Regions from separate parts of the Homo sapiens genome. Here all the other regions are linked to region 2. The links are contacts of gene promoters, found by promoter capture Hi-C in blood cells and fetal thymus (Javierre and others, 2016). All regions are on one chromosome and are shown on one strand. Each heading gives the region's core, a stretch centred on a gene start or on the middle of the fragment in contact. The rest is flanking DNA. Distances are from core to core; before and after follow the strand shown.

Evidence for each region. Contacts are between HindIII fragments. The CHiCAGO score rates a contact against its expected background, and 5 or more counts as called.
Region 1: a contact is called between a fragment that was not itself captured here and the fragment with the promoter of CNNM3 in region 2, in 6 of 17 cell types (activated CD4 T cells, total CD4 T cells, naive CD8 T cells and 3 more). The highest score is 6.5, in activated CD4 T cells.
Region 3: a fragment that was not itself captured here is called in contact with the fragment with the promoter of CNNM3 in region 2 in 2 of 17 cell types (M1 macrophages and naive B cells); the score reaches 5.4 in M1 macrophages.

The regions. Positions count from the first base shown.
Region 1 is chr2:96,914,491-96,918,549 of GRCh38, forward strand. The region is part of intron 12 of FAM178B (family with sequence similarity 178 member B); the gene reads right to left. Among named protein-coding and RNA genes, the nearest start is that of SEMA4C, 46 kb to the left of the region's middle. The HindIII fragment of the contact is 8,021 bases long and covers 1-4,059 here.
Region 2 is chr2:96,814,465-96,818,462 of GRCh38, forward strand. CNNM3 (cyclin and CBS domain divalent metal cation transport mediator 3) reads left to right here and starts at 1,804. Exons shown (of 8, transcript NM_017623.5): 1 at 1,804-3,038. The coding sequence starts at 1,814. RefSeq lists an enhancer at 951-1,070 and silencers at 1,411-2,390, 2,401-2,540, 2,551-2,660. The HindIII fragment of the contact is 9,370 bases long and covers 1-3,998 here.
Region 3 is chr2:96,700,273-96,704,456 of GRCh38, forward strand. FER1L5 (fer-1 like family member 5) reads left to right here. Exons shown (of 53, transcript NM_001293083.2): 45 at 60-199; 46 at 1,683-1,771; 47 at 2,034-2,129; 48 at 2,328-2,469; 49 at 2,706-2,805; 50 at 2,881-3,074; 51 at 3,251-3,360; 52 at 3,943-4,090. Among named protein-coding and RNA genes, the nearest start is that of LMAN2L, 38 kb to the right of the region's middle. The HindIII fragment of the contact is 6,205 bases long and covers 1-4,184 here.

The DNA.
Region 1 (4,059 bases), core at 1,237-3,736, 100 kb after region 2:
GTCTTGGAAGATTCTGGAGCAGGGAAGTGACTCAATTGCTTATGACAGTTCTTTTATGGTTCAGTGTTTTAGGTGTCATCATAATGTTGTAATTATGTTTTAAAATACCCACCAAGGGCTGGGCACTGTGGCTCATGCCTGTGATCTCAGCACTTTGGGAAGCCAAGGTGGGAGGATCACTTGAGCCCAGGGGTCTAAGACCAGGCTGGGGAACACAGGGAGATCCTGTCTCTACAAAAACTTAAAGAAGTTAGCTAGGTGGGATGGTGCATGCCTGTAGTCCCAGCTACTCGGGAGGCTGAGGCAGGAGGATCACTTAAGCCCAGGAGGTCGAAGCTGCAGTGAGCCTGGATGGCACCACTGCACTCCTGCCTCGGCGAAAGAGATTCTGTCAACAACAAACAAACCACCAAGACCTTATCTTTTTAGAGACACGTACTGAATAAAATAAGTCTAATCATTTGCTCTGATTCACAATGATGTGGGGCAGGGGTGGGGGGCAATGGGTGAGGGAAGGAGGAGTCTCCACGGCTGTGTTTGCTGAGATGGAAAATGGGTACATGGAGTCCATTTTACTAGCCTCTCAACGTTTGTATATGTCTTGAAATTATCTATAACCAAATTTTTTTTTTTTTTTGAGACGAAGTCTCACTCTGCCTCCTAGGTTGGAGTGCAATGGCACAATCTCGGCTCACTGCAACCTCTGCCTCCCGGGTTCAAATGATTCTCCTGTCTCAGCCTCCTGAATAGCTGGGATTACAGGTGCATGCCACCATGCCCAGCTAATTTTTTTTTTTTTCTATTTTTAGTAGAGACGGGGTTTCACCATGTTGGCCAGGCTGGTCTTGAACTCCTGACCTCAAGTTATCCACCCACCTCGGCCTCCCAAAGTGCTGGGATTACAGGTGTGAGCCACCGCACCCAGCCAACAAAACTTTAAAAACTTATTAAATAGAAGTGATTCTGGCTAATTGGTGAGAACTGGCTGTGGGGGTAAGAGCAGGAGCTTGGAGGCCGACAGGGTCTTTAGAAAGGGGAAATAAGAGGATGGGCACGGTGGCTCACGCCTATAATCCCAGCACTTTGGGAGGGCGAGGCGGGCAGATCACAAGGTCAGGAGTTCAAGACCAGCCTGCCCAACATGGAGAAACCTCGTCTCTACTAAAAATACAAAAATTAGCTGGGTGTGGTGGCACGCACCTGTAGTCCCAGCCACTTGGGAGGCTGAGGCAGGAGAATCGCTTAAACACGGGAGGCGGAGGTTGCAGTGAGCTGAGACTGTGCCATTGCACTCCAGCCTGGGCGACAGAGTGGGAAAAAAAAAAAAAGAAAAAGAAAAAAAGAAAGGGGGAAATAAGCCCTAGGCAACCAAAAACACTCCTATTAACCTCACACCCAAAGATGGCCTTTCTTTTCCCCTAAACAGAATTGGCATCACACTTTACATATGGCTTCAAAGCCTTTTTTCCACTCAGCGTATTTCATTAACTTTCCCATTTTCCTGTGACATCATTTTTAGGTACCATATAATACTCCGTAGCACGGGCAGAACTGAATCGATGGTGGGGCACTGAGGCAATTTCCAGTTCTTCACTATCATGACATTGCTATGCCAAACATCCTTGTCAATGAATCTTTGCCATCTAGTTCCCCAGAAAACGATCTAGCTTTTTGAAGGGTGTGCACATTTTAAAGTCATTTGCTTGATTTTGCCAAACTGGCCTCCAGAGGGACTACTGACCGCATCTCATGAGCAGGGAAGCATATGCCTGTTTCCTCACATCCTGCCAACACTGGGCAGCACTGTCCTTTCGGATTGATTCTGGTCTGCCAGGCAAGGAACTCTACGTCATTGTCAGGGCTGGTTTCGTGAGCCGTTTTACGCAGGCTTTGTCCATTCCTCCATCTGACCAGGCAGCCTGCGGGAGCTGGCTTCATCTGACCTTCTGCTTTGAAGCAGCGCACACAGGATGTTTAATGAATAGCCGCAGGCAGTGAAGGAAGAGGATCCCCAGAGCCTGGGACATCAGCTTTCAGTAGAGTGCAAGCAGTTGCAGGAGCCCTGAACAGAAGTGGGGATGGCATGCTGCTCTTCCCAAAGCTGCCTGAGCTGCCCCAATGGCGCCACCTCCCAAGGTGGATGTTCCTCCAAGAACCTCCTCTTCCCCTTGGCTCTGTTTCAGGTGGTCTGCCTTAGTATTCACTTTCATTTTTCATGGTTAGGCCCAGCTCTTCCTTACATTTGCAGTGCATCCCATGAAGTCTTGAACGCTGAGGCAGGGGCTGCGGGTGTACTGCATGAGTGTCAGCAGGAGTTCTCGCTTTGTGCTTAACCAGTCAGTCGAGCAGACAAAGAGTGTGACAGCCCTTCGTACACCAATCTGCCCTTCTTCCTGGGGTCAGTCTGGGCACAGAGCCCAGTGGGGCAGCCACCAGTGAAGGCAGCCAGTAAGCTCTGTGGCCGCCGCGGGAAGCACAGTGGAGCAGCAGCTCACTGAAGACCCACAGTGAGTACAACGCGGCAGGAAAAAAGAATTAGGAGCCCTTTACAACCCAATCAGGGATGACGGCCAGAACACACCCTGAAGAGCAAAGAAGGTGCGGAAACGGCGGGTACGTGCACACGCAGACAGAGGCTGGCGGCCAGCCAGGTGGCTCTGGCTCAGGGGAAGAAGCGCATTTTCAACATCAAATTTGAAAGGAGTACTTTCAAAAAGGTACTCCTTGGTACCTTACGAATTTTGTTTTATTTGAATGCTTTTATCTATTTAGAAAAATAAAATCAATAACACTGATCCCGATAAGGCACCCTCCTTCCTAGTAAAGCTCTTGGCACAAAGCATCACCCTGCTGACGTGGCTGCCTGAAAGGCAGGCGCAAGATGCTCTGTTTCATTCATTTCCTGGCATTTAAAGGGCAATTGCCATGGGCCCTGGAGCTACCCACAGATTCCACAAAAGACACTGATTCATGAAATCACAGTTTAACATGGCTAGCAGATGAAGGAGTGAAGTCATAAACTTAGGATATGGAGAAGGTAGCTTCAAATCTGTCTTGAAAGGATGAATTATTAAGACCAAAAAGCTGAGGCATGGTGGCTCACACCCGTGATCCCAGCAGTTTGGGAGGCTGAAGTGGGAAGATCACTTCAGCCCAGGGATTTGAGATCGGCCTGCACAACATAGGGAGACCTTGTCTCTACTAAAAATTTAAAAATTAGATGGGTGTGTTGGCATCTGTCTGTAGTCCTAGCTACTAAGGAGGTTGAGGCAGGAGGATTACTTGATCCCAAGAGGTCGAGGCTGCAGTGAGCCATGATGGTACCACTGCACTCCAGCCTGGGTGACAGAGTGAGACCCTCTCTCAAAAAACAAAACAAAAGGCAGAAAAATTGACGTTGGGTCCCCACTGGCTGTTTGGGGATGGAAAAAATCAAGTTAGATCCTTCTCTCATACCAAGGACAAACAGATTTGAGTTGGGATTAAGAGCTGATGGACACAAAGTAAAGCCAGTCCTGAAAGAGAAGAAAGCACACTATCTTTATGGTCTTGGTGGGGAAACCCTTCGTCTTCCACATGGAAAGATTACATTACACAAAAATCCCAATCAATTCTCTGCATTATCCATAAAACTGTCCTGTAAATCTAAATCTATTCTAAAATAAAAAAAAAAAGGACTGAAAAAGTAAAAAAAAAAAGAAAAAAAATTCCAGTTCACTGAAAGGTACCATACATAAAGATTTAAAAAGGACAATCTATATAACCTTTGGAGAAAACATACTGTAACATAATAAGCAACATGAAGATCAACAGAGTTGATAAGAAGATAAATTAACTGATAGGAAAGTGGGTAAGAAATACCAAAAGGTAATTTACAGTAAGAGAAACACAAAAGGCCAATAAATACATGAAAAGATACTCAGTTTCACTGGCAATCAGGGAAATGAAAATTAGAACCACAGGATGATGTTTTCCACTCACCAGATTGACTAAAACTCAAAAACAAAACTGGGAATATGTAGTATTAATGAGAATGCAGAAAAATATGCACTTTCATAC
Region 2 (3,998 bases), core at 554-3,053:
TACAGGTGCACGCCACCACACCTGGCTAATTTTTTGTATTTTTAGTACAGATGGGGTTTCACCATGTTAGTCCGGATGGTCTCGATCTCCTGACCTCGTGATCCGCCCGCCTCCGCCTCCCAAAGTGCTGGGATTACAGGCGTGAGCCACCGTGCCCGGCCAGCTATTACCATCTTTTAAAAAGTTTTTTACAGGCCGGGCGCGGTGGCTCACGCTTGTAATCCCAGCACTTTGGGAGGCCAAGGTGGGTGGATCACGAGGTCAGGAGATCGAGACCACGGTGAAACCCCGTCTCTACTAAAAATACAAAAAAATTAGCCGGGCGTGGTGGCGGGCGCCTGTAGTCCCAGCTACTCGGAGAGGCTGAGGCAGGAGAATGGCGTGAACCCGGGAGGCGGAGCTTGCAGTGAGCCGAGACTGCGTCACTGCACTCCAGCCTGGGTGACAGAGCGAGACTCCGTCTCAAAAAAAAAAAAAAAAGTTTTTTACAAAGCCTTTTCCTTTGGTCACTCACCACCAGCTTACTCATTTTTTTTTTTTTTTGCACATTACCTTCCACACAAGTTTTACTTTGTGGCCACAATGTGCATACTTTTTTTGATTGTTACTTTCATGACATAGCAAATTGTTTCTATAGAGTCTTTATAAAGGTCATTTAAAATGACATGTGCAGTAAGTCAAAGTCTTCTTGTGCTAGGAAATTTGAAAAAACAAAAGTGTAGAGAAAAATACAAAAATTACTGAATCTGAACATCTATAGAGAAGTGTTGTTAGCAGTTGGTTTATTTCCTTCCAATCACATACAGATCATATCTGATGGGTAAAGAATATTCCATACTGTCAACAGACCACACTGTCTTCTAAAATCGCTTCAGCAGTGAGGATCCTCTGGAATAGATCTTGTTAATCCTGAGGAATTATTCTCCCAGCGGTGAGCTATGAGAAGTGGAATCACCAGATGTAGTAATTCCTGACAGAACTGCCGCCTGCTTGTGTGGCTGAGATGCTGACCTAGGTATCAGGCTGGTCGCGCCGGAACCCAGCACCCACGCTGAGTCTTTCTGAGCTCCACTCTGCTCCTGTTAGATATTAACCACCTGAGGTAGCTGTCCAGATTCAAGGCGGTAGTGATTTTGTGTGTCTGTGTATTTATCACGGGGTCCGCGGCGGGAACGCAGGGGCTGTGTCCCACGTCCCCAAACCTCTAGTAGGGTACGGCGCGATGAACATCTTCCATAAACCTTAAACCTCCCGGCGCTCAGTCACTGGTTCTTATTTCAGCCCTCTTAGCCCCGTAGGTCGGCGCGCTGAAAACCTTTCTGGTACCTGGGGCCTTTCCTAAGAAAAAGGCACATGTCTCGCACATTTCAGTCTGGTCTGCAACTTCAGGCGCGCCAGCACCCGAGGTTCTTCCGACCGGCCGCTCCGCTCCCAAGCCGGGAACTTCCCAGAGAATTGGCTCGGCCTCCGGGCGCGGGGGACAGCATCGGGAGGAGTGGGACTCCGGGCGCCGCGCACGGGCCGAGGACAGCCGGGCTTGGGAGGCCCTGCCCGCCGCCCCGCGTCCTCCCGGCCACTGCCACCCCGCGCATCCGGAGCCGCAGCAGACTCGGCGGGGCCCGGAGCCCCACGCCCCCGGCCCGCCCCTGGCCGCCACTTGTTTACTCCCCGGCGCAGCCTAGTCCGACCCTGGGGCCCGCCCCCGCCCACCGCCTATTGGCCGAGGAGGCGCGAAGAGCCGTAACGATTGGCCCGGGGAGGCGCGGGGCGAGCGGGGTAGGCTGCGCGAGAGGCCGAGAGGGGGCAGCAGGCGATGGCGGCGGCGGTAGCTGCGGCGGGTCGGTTAGGCTGGTTGTTCGCCGCGCTCTGCCTGGGCAACGCCGCGGGGGAGGCCGCGCCGGGCCCGCGAGTGCTGGGCTTCTGCCTGGAGGAGGATGGAGCGGCGGGCGCGGGTTGGGTACGCGGAGGGGCGGCGCGGGACACGCCGGACGCCACCTTCCTCCTGCGCCTCTTCGGCCCGGGCTTCGCCAACAGCTCTTGGTCCTGGGTGGCCCCGGAGGGGGCGGGCTGCCGGGAGGAGGCGGCCTCCCCCGCGGGCGAGTGGCGCGCGCTGCTGCGCTTGCGCCTGCGGGCCGAGGCCGTGCGCCCGCACTCGGCGCTGCTGGCGGTGCGCGTGGAGCCGGGTGGCGGGGCGGCTGAGGAGGCGGCGCCGCCCTGGGCTCTGGGCCTGGGGGCGGCCGGGCTGCTGGCGCTGGCAGCGCTGGCGCGAGGCCTGCAGCTGAGCGCGCTGGCGCTGGCGCCTGCCGAGGTGCAGGTGCTGCGCGAGAGCGGCTCGGAGGCGGAGCGTGCGGCGGCGCGGCGTTTGGAGCCCGCGCGGCGCTGGGCCGGCTGCGCCTTGGGCGCGCTGCTGCTGCTGGCCAGCCTGGCGCAGGCGGCGCTGGCGGTGCTGCTGTACCGCGCGGCCGGCCAGCGTGCGGTGCCCGCCGTGTTGGGCAGCGCGGGGCTCGTGTTCCTGGTGGGAGAGGTGGTGCCGGCCGCCGTGAGCGGGCGCTGGACGCTGGCGCTGGCGCCGCGAGCGCTCGGCCTCAGCCGCCTGGCCGTCCTGCTCACTCTGCCCGTCGCGCTGCCCGTGGGGCAGCTGCTGGAGCTGGCGGCGCGGCCCGGGCGGCTGCGGGAGCGGGTGCTGGAGCTGGCGCGCGGCGGCGGCGACCCCTACAGCGATCTCAGCAAGGGCGTGCTGCGCTGCCGGACCGTGGAGGACGTGCTCACGCCCCTCGAAGACTGCTTCATGCTGGACGCCAGCACCGTGCTGGACTTCGGCGTCCTGGCCAGCATCATGCAGAGCGGCCACACGCGCATCCCGGTGTACGAGGAGGAGCGCTCCAACATCGTGGACATGCTCTACCTCAAGGACTTGGCCTTCGTGGATCCCGAAGACTGCACGCCGCTCAGCACCATCACTCGTTTCTACAACCATCCGCTCCACTTCGTCTTCAACGACACCAAGCTGGACGCTGTCCTGGAGGAATTCAAGCGAGGTAACGGCCCGGGCATGGTGCAGGGGACGCCCGTGCGAGTGCCCTCTCCCTGAAAAGGGGTGGAGAGTTATGGAAGCCTTCTGGAAAGGGTCCCACCCCTGTGGAGAGCAGTGAGACCTCTAAGGTCCCTTTTCAAGACGGTATTGGCCTTGCAGCTTGGAATGACCTTTTGAAATACTTAAAGGCCATCGATCAGAGTGGGAGGAATCCTTTAGACAGCGAACACTTTAACCCCCGCGTCAGGATAGCCCCCCCCCCCCATTTGCAGGGAGGGGTATGTCCGCTTGTCCTCTAATCCCCCAGCTCTTTCCCTCTCCCAGAGTGTTTCTGTGTGCTTGACTTTGTAGCAGGTCCAAATTTTTGGATAGAAACTAGAAGAACATAGAAAAGATGGTAGTCTCCAGGTATCTGGGATATTGTTGTGTGCACACATGTAATATCAAATTGACTGGACCTGTAATGTTTCCTTCAGAGCATTCTTAAGGTCCCTGGCGTTACTGCAGATAAGGGTATTTAGGTGTCAATCCCTTATCTGCGGTAAAGTCAGGGAAACTTAACACTTTGCTTTCACCAAAAGTAACTCCATTTATGCTGACTTAGTCTCCCTTTCTCCCAGCTCTGTCGCGCAGGCTGGAGTGCAGTGGCCGATCTCTTATCACTGCAACTTTCGCCTCCCAGGTTCAAGCAGTTCTCCTGCCTCAGCCTTCGAGTAGCTGGGACTACAGATGCACCCCACCATTCCGGGCTAATTTTTGTATTTTTAGTAAAGATGGGGTTTCACCACGTTGACCAAGCTGGTCTTGAACTCCTGACCAGGTGATCCACTTGCCTCGCCCTCCCAAAGTGCTGTGATTGCAGGCGTGAGCCACTGTGCCCGGCCCTTTTTTTTTTTTTTTTGCTTTTTAATCTCCTGTTTTTTAAAATTTTATGTAGAGACAGGGTCTCACTATTTTGCCCAGC
Region 3 (4,184 bases), core at 1,654-4,153, 110 kb before region 2:
TAGGAGATAGGAAGGCTAATGACCTCGCAATCCCCTCCTTCCATCCCCCTCCAATCCAGAGCCCAAAACCCCTACTGTTCATGGTTTGGGACCCAAGAAGGAACGCCTTGCACTGTACCTCCTGCACACCCAGGGGCTGGTACCTGAGCACGTGGAGACCCGCACACTGTACAGCCACAGCCAGCCAGGCATCGACCAGGTATGAGACTGGAGGGGCCACTCCTGGCTCCTACAGGAGGAGCTAGATCAGGAGACAGAGATGCCTGTCCACCCAGGACATAGTCCACGAGAGGAGAAGGACAGGCCAAACATTTAGTAATGTACATGCACAGAAGACAAGCATGCTGTGCACATTAATAAGCAAGAAGTTCTGGTGGTGTCACTTAGAATGGAGAATTTCAGAGCTGGAAAGGTCATCTACAAGAAACAGAGGCCATGCGCCAGCTGTGGGAGGCACCAGGGAGCCCTACCAGTCAATGTCTCCATTGCCTTAAGTCTCTCCCGAGGGGTGGGAAGGTGGCGCTCAGGTCAGACAGCGCAGACATGACAACGCGGGTTCTGGCTGTTAATTGTAGGCTGTGTCTTCTTCACAGCAAATAACCCCAAACAGAGAAATAAAAATCCCCAAACGCACCTAATTATCATTCACTCTGCAGCCACCATAATGGCTCATCTCATTCTCTAAACTTCTCAAGCTCATACCACATTCCAGACAGAAAGTCCTCTGCTGAGCAAAATTTTTAAAAAACCATTCCCACAGGCCAGGTGCAGTGGCTCACGCCTGTAATCCCAGCCTGTGGGAGGCTGAGGCGGGCAGATCACTTGAGGCCAGGAGTTTGAGACCACCCTGGCCAACATGGCAAAACCTCTTTACTAAAAATACAAAAATTAGCTGGGCATGGTGGTGGGTGCCTGTAATCCCAGCTACTCAGGAGGCTTAGGCACGAGAATCGCTTGAGCCTGAGAGGCAGAGGCTGCAGTGAGCTGAGATCATGCCACTGCACTGCAGCCTGGTGACAGAGGGAAACTCTGTTTCAAAAAACAAATAAAAAACCATTCCCATTAAACCTGTTTTCTCAAATGGGTCAACTTCAGAAGAATATAATGAGGTCAGGTGGTCTGAAAGGCAGAACGTATTTGTGTATTCTTCAATGTTGGCAGTTCTCCCCTTTTCTTTCCTTTTCTCCTCCTTCTCATCCCTTACCTTCTTTCCTCTGTATGTGTGGCTAGCTTAATACCCTTAGGTTGTAGTTCATAACATAAAATGACCTGAAAATCTGGACTGGTATCTAGTTTCCTCATACTCGAGGCTATCAAGCAACACCAAGCTGCTTGATAAATGATGCCCCAACTCCGATCTGGACCCCTGTCCAGACAGGCCATCTAGCATGACCTAGGGAGTGGCATTCACCCTCCAGACCTGTCGTAAGTGGAATCCCAGCACCATGCCATCAGCCCCAAAGCTACCGTGTCCCAATCTCCCTGCACTACTCTCTCAGCCAAAAGAAAGGGGGAAGCTGGTGCGTGGTCACCTGCGGCCTCACAGATATCTCTGTACCCCACCCCTCGGTGTTGGGAACACAACCTCAACAGACCTCAGAACCTGGGACAGGGAACCCCAGGCCAGCCTGCTGAGAACAGAGGCTAGCAACCCCCAACCAGTCAATGTATCCCGGCTCTAGGGAAAGGTGCAAATGTGGGTGGACATCTTCCCCAAGAAGCTGGGGCCTCCTGGCCCCCAAGTCAACATCAACCCCAGAAAGCCTAAACGGTGAGTGACAGCCCACTTCCCAACTGCTGCATTTCACAGTTCAGAACTCCCCCAGTGCAGGGCACCACTGTCCTCAGGTACTGAGCTGCAGTAATTCGTTTCTCTATTGGGAAGAGAGGAAGCTCTACTGGGAGCTTTCTTCCCCTGAATTCCCCACACTGAGCAAAAACACACAGGGCAGCCTCCCAGGCTTCTCTGCCCTCACTGAGGCTGCAGCTGGGGAGCTCCTCCTCAGCAAAGCCTCAGAGCACAGTGGCCACAGGTATGAGCTGCGATGCATCATCTGGAAGACTGCCAATGTGGACCTGGTGGATGACAATTTAAGTAGAGAGAAGACGAGCGACATCTACATCAAAGGGTAGGGAAGAGGAGTCAGGCTCCGGCAGAGCCCCTCAGTTCCCCAGTTCTGTCATCCTGCTGGCACGGCCCAGTCCTGAATGGGACACCTCTCCATCCAGCTCTGCCTGGCGTCGGCTGGGCAGCCCTTCCCATGGGGCTCCAGCTGGGGGATGGGGCCAATGCACATGAGCCACAGGTGATAGGACTCTGGCCCCAGGTGGTTATACGGGCTGGAGAAGGACATGCAGAAGACAGACATCCACTACCACTCGCTGACTGGGGAGGCCGACTTCAACTGGCGGTTCATCTTTACCATGGACTACCTGGCGGCGGAGCGCACGTGTGTCCAGAGCCAGAAGGTAACAGGCCTGGGGCGTGAGGGGCAACAGGCCACAACAAACAGACCCAGGCTCCTGGAGCTCCTCCCCCCACCCCTCCAGAGGCTTGCAATCTGTCCCAGAACATCAGAAACATGTCCTCAGGTGGAAACCCTCTTCCTTGATAGTCTATCACTGCTGGGTGGAGGGCCACTGAGGGGTGCAAGGGAAACGTCCAGGAGACAGGCCGGTAACACGCCCTTCCGCCATTTCCCCAGGATTACATATGGAGCCTGGATGCCACGTCCATGAAGTTCCCAGCCCGACTTATCATCCAGGTCTGGGACAATGACATCTTCTCCCCCGACGACTTCCTAGGTGAGGTCCTGACACAGGGCTTGTGACCACAGGACAGGGAGCTCCTTCTTGCTGATGTCATTTTTCTGGGCTCAGGGGTCCTGGAGCTGGATTTGTCTGACATGCCCCTCCCGGCTCGGCACGCCAAGCAGTGCTCCATCAGGATGATGGACGCCGACCCCAAGTGGCCCTATTTCATCCAATACAAGCACTTCTCCCTCTTTAAGAAGAAGACTGTGACTGGCTGGTGGCCTTGCCAGGTCCTCGATGGTGGCAAATGGCGCTTGTCGGTAGGAGCTGGGGAGTGTCTACTGATTAGGGCTGCTATGCCACATGTCCTGGCTCTAACAGACATCTAGGGACCTAGCTAAATCCCTTTTCCTTTCTTGATCCCGGGAAGAGGTCCTAAAACTACCCGGCTCCTGCTGTCTGCACTCAGCCTCCCCCTCACCCATGGTGTTCCTAGGGCAAGGTGAAGATGAGCCTGGAGATTCTGTCAGAGAAGGAAGCCTTAATCAAGCCAGCCGGGCGAGGCCAGTCGGAACCCAACCAGTACCCCACACTTCATCCTCCCCTGTAAGGGTCCTTGGGGCAAAAGCACCAGATCTTTCTTGCTCCTCAGTGTGTATGGGGTGGTGACCAGTGGGCCTATCATGGAGAGGTGGTAATTACCTCCCACCCCACAGCTCTGTGCTCAGTTACAATCAGCAAAGAACAGACTTGGGGTGAGGGTTGGAGTAAGCAAAAGTTGCCTTTTTTTTTTTTTTTTTTTTTTTGAGATAATTGTCTCACTCTGTCACCCAGGCTGGAGTGTGGTGGCACAATCTCTGCTCACTGCAACCTCTGCCTCCTGGGTTCAAGCGATTCTCCTGCCTCAGCCTCCTGAGTAGCTGGGATAACAGGCACATGCCACCATGCCCGGCTAATTTTTGTATTTTTAGTAGAGACGCGGTTTCACCATGTTGGCCAGGCTGGTCTCAAACTCCTGACCTCAGGTGATCCACTCACCTCGGCCTCCCAAAATGCTGGGATTACAGGCGTGAGACACTGTGCCTGGCCCAGTAGTTGCTTTTTTAAAAAAGAAAGCTCTTTGCATCAGATTACTTGACCTGAAGGTTCTCCCTGCCATTCTCTGACATCTCCCTGGCTCCTGGACAGACGCACCAACACCTCTTTCACGTGGCTGCGGTCACCAGTTCAAAACTTCTGCTATATTTTCTGGAAACGCTATCGCTTCAAACTCATAGCCTTTATGGTCATATCGATTATAGCACTTATGCTGTTTAACTTCATCTATTCAGCTCCGGTGAGTGGCAGCCATGGGGGCAAGGACAAAGGTGGTCTCGGGATGACTCTGGGGACAGCGTCTTCAGCTTGCCACCCCAGGCTAACTGTTGTCT